Regions from separate parts of the Homo sapiens genome. Here region 2 is linked to region 1. The links are contacts of gene promoters, found by promoter capture Hi-C in human tissues and cell types (Jung and others, 2019). All regions are on one chromosome and are shown on one strand. The core of a region is centred on a gene start or on the middle of the fragment in contact, and the rest is flanking DNA. Distances in the headings are between cores, read along the strand shown.

The links. Contacts are between HindIII fragments. The study calls those that stand out against the background at their distance.
Region 2: a contact is called between a fragment that was not itself captured here and the fragment with the promoter of TMEM50B in region 1, in 1 of the 25 tissues and cell types used here (heart left ventricle).

Annotation. Positions count from the first base shown.
Region 1 is chr21:33,478,673-33,481,372 of GRCh38, reverse strand. It overlaps TMEM50B (transmembrane protein 50B), which reads left to right and starts at 1,399. Exons shown (of 7, transcript NM_006134.7): 1 at 1,399-1,535. The HindIII fragment of the contact is 12,756 bases long and covers 1-2,700 here.
Region 2 is chr21:32,452,318-32,455,067 of GRCh38, reverse strand. EVA1C (eva-1 homolog C) reads right to left here. Exons shown (of 8, transcript NM_058187.5): 2 at 1,560-1,756. It also overlaps the pseudogene LOC101928078. Among named protein-coding and RNA genes, the nearest start is that of EVA1C, 41 kb to the right of the region's middle. The HindIII fragment of the contact is 7,901 bases long and covers 1-2,750 here.

The sequences.
Region 1 (2,700 bases), core at 150-2,649:
ACATGCAACCCCCGCCCCTTTCAAAAGGTTCTTAAAGAGAGGAGAGTGTTCCCTTCTGTATCCTCTCTTCTGGTGGAATGCCAGCATTGTGACATATTTCAAAAGTAAATTATTCAGCACATATTTATTGAACACCTAGATCCTAGCCCATGTATAAGAGCTATAGGAGAACATTATCCAGGATGGCATTTTTGGTGATAATTCCATGATACAAAACCTTTTACTTCATTATGCCTCAAGTAAAATGCTTTTTAGATTTCCACTGATAATAACTCTACTTGGCTGGGCACAGTGGCCCACGCTTGTAATCCCAGCATTTTGGGAGGCAGAGGCGGGTGGATCACCTGAGGTCAGGAGTTCAGGATCAGCCAGGTGAAATCCCGTCTCTACTAAAAATACACAAATTAGCCAAGCATGGTGGTGCGCACCTGTAATCCCAGCTACTCGGAAGGCTGAGGTGGGAGGATTGATTGAGCGTGGGAGGTAAGAGGCTGCAGTGAGCCAAGATCACACCACTGCACTCCACCCTGGACAACAGAGCAAGACCCTGTCTCAAAACAAACAAACAAACCACCCAAAAAACAAAGCTCGACTTTCCCCCAAACAACTAAATGGTTATAGGCATTTCTGTAGGAAATTTAGACGGGGCTTCCAAACGCTGTTAAAGTTATGTTGAAAATCCAAGAGGCTGAAAGATATCTGACTATAAGAAAGACGAAAAAAAAAAAAAAAGACAAAAATCTACGTGAATAGACGGGAGAGCGCCGAGCGAAATCAGAAGACTAGTTGTATTGTGAGGATCACCTCGGGTAACCAGCACTCGCTGGGTAGCCCTGGTTTACTAACTTCAACTTTCTGGGGCTCCATTTCTGAATTGAGGGGATTAGAAAAAGGCATCTCTAAAGACCCTCCGTTCCCGAGAACCCTCCCGGAGCACCTTCCCTACTCTGGGCAGCTCGCAGACAGACAAGACTGATCGGCCATAGGCGAAGGGAAACCCTGGTCCCCCGGGTCTCGAGCTCCGTCCGCACGTAATCTCACGGTACTGCACTTCAAGTCAGCGTGCAGAAACGCAGCAGTGGGAGCCCGGCGGCGGCCGCCCACCGGCAGGGGACAGGAGAGGCCCGTCCCGCTCTGCCCGGAACCGTAGATAGCTGGGTCTGAACTCCGGCTCCGGGAGGCCTGCAGAGCAGCCCACCCCGTCCCTCGGAGCTCGCCCTGCCCCCGGCCGGCCACTTGCTGCACGCCGATTGGTCGCGAGGAGCGCCCGGCGTCCCGCTGCGCCCAGCCAACGCCCTCTCCCCGCCCCCTCGCGTCCCGCCCCGCCCCCGGCCGGCCACTTGCTGCGCTCCGATTGGTCGCTGCGGTGCACACGGCGCCTCGCCCCGCCTCACCGGCGCTCTATCCTCGCGTCTGCTCCCAGCTCCGGGCTCCCGGGGCTGAGGTGGAGCCGCGGGACGCCGGCAGGGTTGTGGCGCAGCAGTCTCCTTCCTGCGCGCGCGCCTGAAGTCGGCGTGGGCGTTTGAGGAAGCTGGGTGAGTCCTGTCTGTGGGTCTCCGGCGCCAGGCAACCGTAGAGGGCTCGCGCCCGCCGCCCGCGCGTAAGGAGGCTCCCTCGTCGGGCCCTGTCCGGCCCGGCCTTCTGGGGGCTGTGGGGCCGTCCAGCCGGGTTTTCCCTGCGTTCGGCGCCGGCCTGCAGACTCGGGCCCGCGGAGCCCCCGCCGCCCCTTCTTGCCCCTGCCCGCGTCCCTTCGGGCCGACCGTGACCGTGGCGCCGCCGCGACCCGCAAGCAGCCCGGGGAGGCTGCCCTGCCGCGCTGTCACGCCGTCAGGTTGCGTTCCTGGGGAGGGCTGGAGAGGCTCCATCTCGTGCCTTTCACCTTCTCGCGCGGCGGGCACGGAGGCGACGGTTTTCGGGACGCCCTGCTGCGGCCGCGACGCCCTCCCGAGGCCGGAGCGAGGGCCCCGGGGCGGCTCCAGCCCTTCTTCGCCCCTCCCGTTTGCCCCGAACCATTGCTAGGAGCCTGTGTTTTCTGCACTTTTCTGATTTCATTCTTACGAGAGTCAAGTACAGAGGCGGGAGGGGAAAGGGAAGGGGAACAACATTCTTTCGAGAATTATAAACCTTGAGCTCCGTTAAATAAGTAGCAGCAGAGCATTGTCACTGGAGCAGTGGTAGTCGCGGGTAGGACCGTTTCGGTTTTTAGCCAATAGGCTGGTTAAAGGTACTTAAAACAGTAAGTTGGAAGGTGCTGAAATTCTAAGGTAAATACGTGACCTTTCAAAACCAAAGCAGTGAGACGGGCTAGGCTGGGCTGCTCCCCGCTGCGCGTGCCTGGGTCGGGGGGTGCGGAGGGGCAGGGGGCGGAGGCCTCGGACGGGACGGGGTGGGAGGGAAGTGGCATCCGCATCGTCTTACATCGCGCTGTAAGACCCGATTTTCTCTTTTCGGAGGATCCCATCTCCCTTCTCAGACTCTTCATCCTACCTGCACTGTGGATCCCTTGACACTTCAGAGGCTCTGAACTCTCAGGCCGGTCACACTTTTTCATCATTTTGTTTCTTGTCTTTTAAACCTGCATGCATTTCAAACGTAGAGCAAACATTAAACTTTTTTTTTAAACTGAAGATAGTGGTGCAAGACTTTGTTATTGAAATGCAAACCAAAAGTTATCTTGAATATTTATCGCGCTGGAAAAGC
Region 2 (2,750 bases), core at 66-2,565, 1.0 Mb after region 1:
ACCCAGGCTCAGGTACACTGTTATAGCAGCACAAAAAGGACTAAGACAGTGGAGCACACAGGGAAAGCAACTTCTTGTCTCCTGAAGAAACATGTTGTCTCTCCTCAAGGTATAGAAACCATGTCATGGGGAGTCATTCAGACACATTCATTTTGGCTACTCAATTGGTGTGTTTCACCAATCACCTAAATACCCAGATACTACCATGCTTGGAGTGGAAGCAAGGGATGGTGTGAGAAATAGAAAAATTCTTACATCATCACATTAGTTTGCGTCTCCTGTTTGGGCCTTAGGGAGAGCTACACAGCATTAAAGCTACTCTTATTTCTCCTTAGTTCTAGCAAATGTATCTTTATCCATATTTCCTACGGTCGACAAAATCAAACAGACTTCCAACTTTCCACCTGCTCTAAACTCCCTGCTTTAAATGTATTCATATGGAACTTGGGAGGCATAAAAAAAAAAATCCAAGGCCAAGTGACTCAGTAATCCTGGTCAACTAGTTATATATGTTAGGGGCCAGGGATGGTGAAGTAGAAGTTGCTCAGATGATTGAAAGCCATGCACAGTCTAAAACCATCATTGAAATATTAGTTTGACCTTCTCCTATACCAAATCTTTCCCTAAATATGCCAACCACAAAAAGAATGACTTAAACCACACCTCTCCCAATTCCTGGTACTATGTAGTAGAAGGAAGGAGTCAGTAAAGGCTGCCTAAAATAGCTCCAAGCAAGAATGACATGATTATCTACAACTGAAGAAGCAAATCATTAAAAAGCACAAGGCAGTTACTGATATTACTGATATTTCCTTCCTTGAATACATTTTCTTTTTTTTGAGATGGAGTCTCGCTCTGTTGCCCAGGCTAGAGTGCAGTGGCATGATCTCAGCTTACTGCAACCTCCGCCTCCTGGGTTCAAGCGATTCTTCTGCCTCAGCCTCCCAAGTAGCTGGGACTACAGGTGCGTGCCACCATGCCCGGCTAATTTTTGTATTATTAGTAGAGATGGGGTTTCACCATATTGGCCAGGCTGGTCTTGAACTCCTGACCTCATGATCCACCCACCTCGGCCTCCCAAAGTGCTGGGATTACAGGCATGAGCCACCGCGCCCAGCCCTTTGAGTACATTTTCTAAAAAGTTGGTCATGACTTCAGATGTCTGCCTCAAAGAGATACTTGTGGTTTCCATTAAAGAACCTACCTTCCCTTTCTACAGGAGTATTTATGGGAGATGTGGGCCTGGAGGTTGGAATCCATCCTGGTTGTACTTTGCTATACTAAAGTAAGGAGTAAACCTACAAATAAATTCATATTGAAGTGTACAAAGGGGGCTCTACAATAGGTAGGAATTCTATTTAGTTTTGTTGGGCAACAAATCCTTTGAGAAGCAAATAATAGCTCACCTACAAAACTGGTGATCTGTATAAATTGGGATTTTTCATGGATCAGTTTTGCTTGGATTGAACTATATAATCACAAATATATTTATACCCAGAGAGAGAGAAAGAGTGTGTGTTGAAACTGTATCATCTTAACATGTCTACAAAAGGCAATACCTGGAAGGTGGTGGCTGCCACACAGGTTAAGCTGTCTTCCCTCTGGGAGGCAGGCTTCTGGGAACTACACATTTGGTAATCTTGCCCATAAAATGCCGATTGGACACTTATCGTAGAATGCCGAGGGCACTGTAGATTCAAATAGTCCCCATCACAGGCATAGGTGGTGTGGTTTTGCAGGAGTTTGGTTAGGTAACCTGGAAAATATTCAGTCGAGTTACTAGAGGCCCAGGAACCCACCACTCCTCCATGGGTTTGGGGACAGGAGGACGTTGGTTCCCCTGGGGAAGGGCTGTTCAATCAACAACATGTGGGATGGGGCCTCCCTAGCAGCTCTGGTGCAGAGGTCACCAAACCAGGCCCAGAGGTGGGGCACAGGAGCCAATGTCAGCTTTCATGTTGACATGGAAGGGGGGCAGGGGAGTGCTGGGTAGAGAAGGGTGGGGTCCCTGGCGAGGGCTCCACCCATGGGCTTGTGCCCATGGACCTTAGTGAGAACAGGCACTCCTGTTTTCATGTCCAAATGTTGCATTTTCCAAGACTACTCTGGCCTGCCATGACCCCCATCCTGTGCCCATAAAAAACCCAAGACCCTAGTGGGCACACACACAAGTGGCTGGACGTCGAGAGGAGCAGAGAAGCAGAAGAGCACACTGACAGACACCAGCAGATGCTGGCGGGCTTTCGACAGCGGGGCGATGTGGAAATCAGTCGGGGGCGGTCGGAGGAGAGTCTGGCTGCTGGGCAGCCCAACTCTAGGGGAAGACCACCTTCCCACTCCATCCCCCTTCTGGCTCCCCATCCGAGAGCCACCTCCTCCACTCAATAAAACCTTGCACTCCTTCTCCAAGTCCATGCGAAATCTGATTTTCCGAGTACACTAGGGCAAGAACCTGGGATACAGAAAGCCATCTGTCTTTGTGATAAGGCAGAGGGTCTAATTGAGCTGATTAACACAAGCCGCCTGCAGATGGCAAAACTGAAGGAGACCACTGTAACACATGCCCACTGGGGCTTCGGGAGCTGTAAACACCCAATTCTACAAGCTGCTGTGGGGTCGGAGCCCAAAAACGCTCCCCACGACCTGTCCATCTGCATGCCCCCTCTAGGGGTTTGAGCAGCAGGGTACTGAGAAGCGAGCCATGCCCCTGTCACGTGCCCTGCAAGGGGGGATAAGGGAACTCCTCCTGT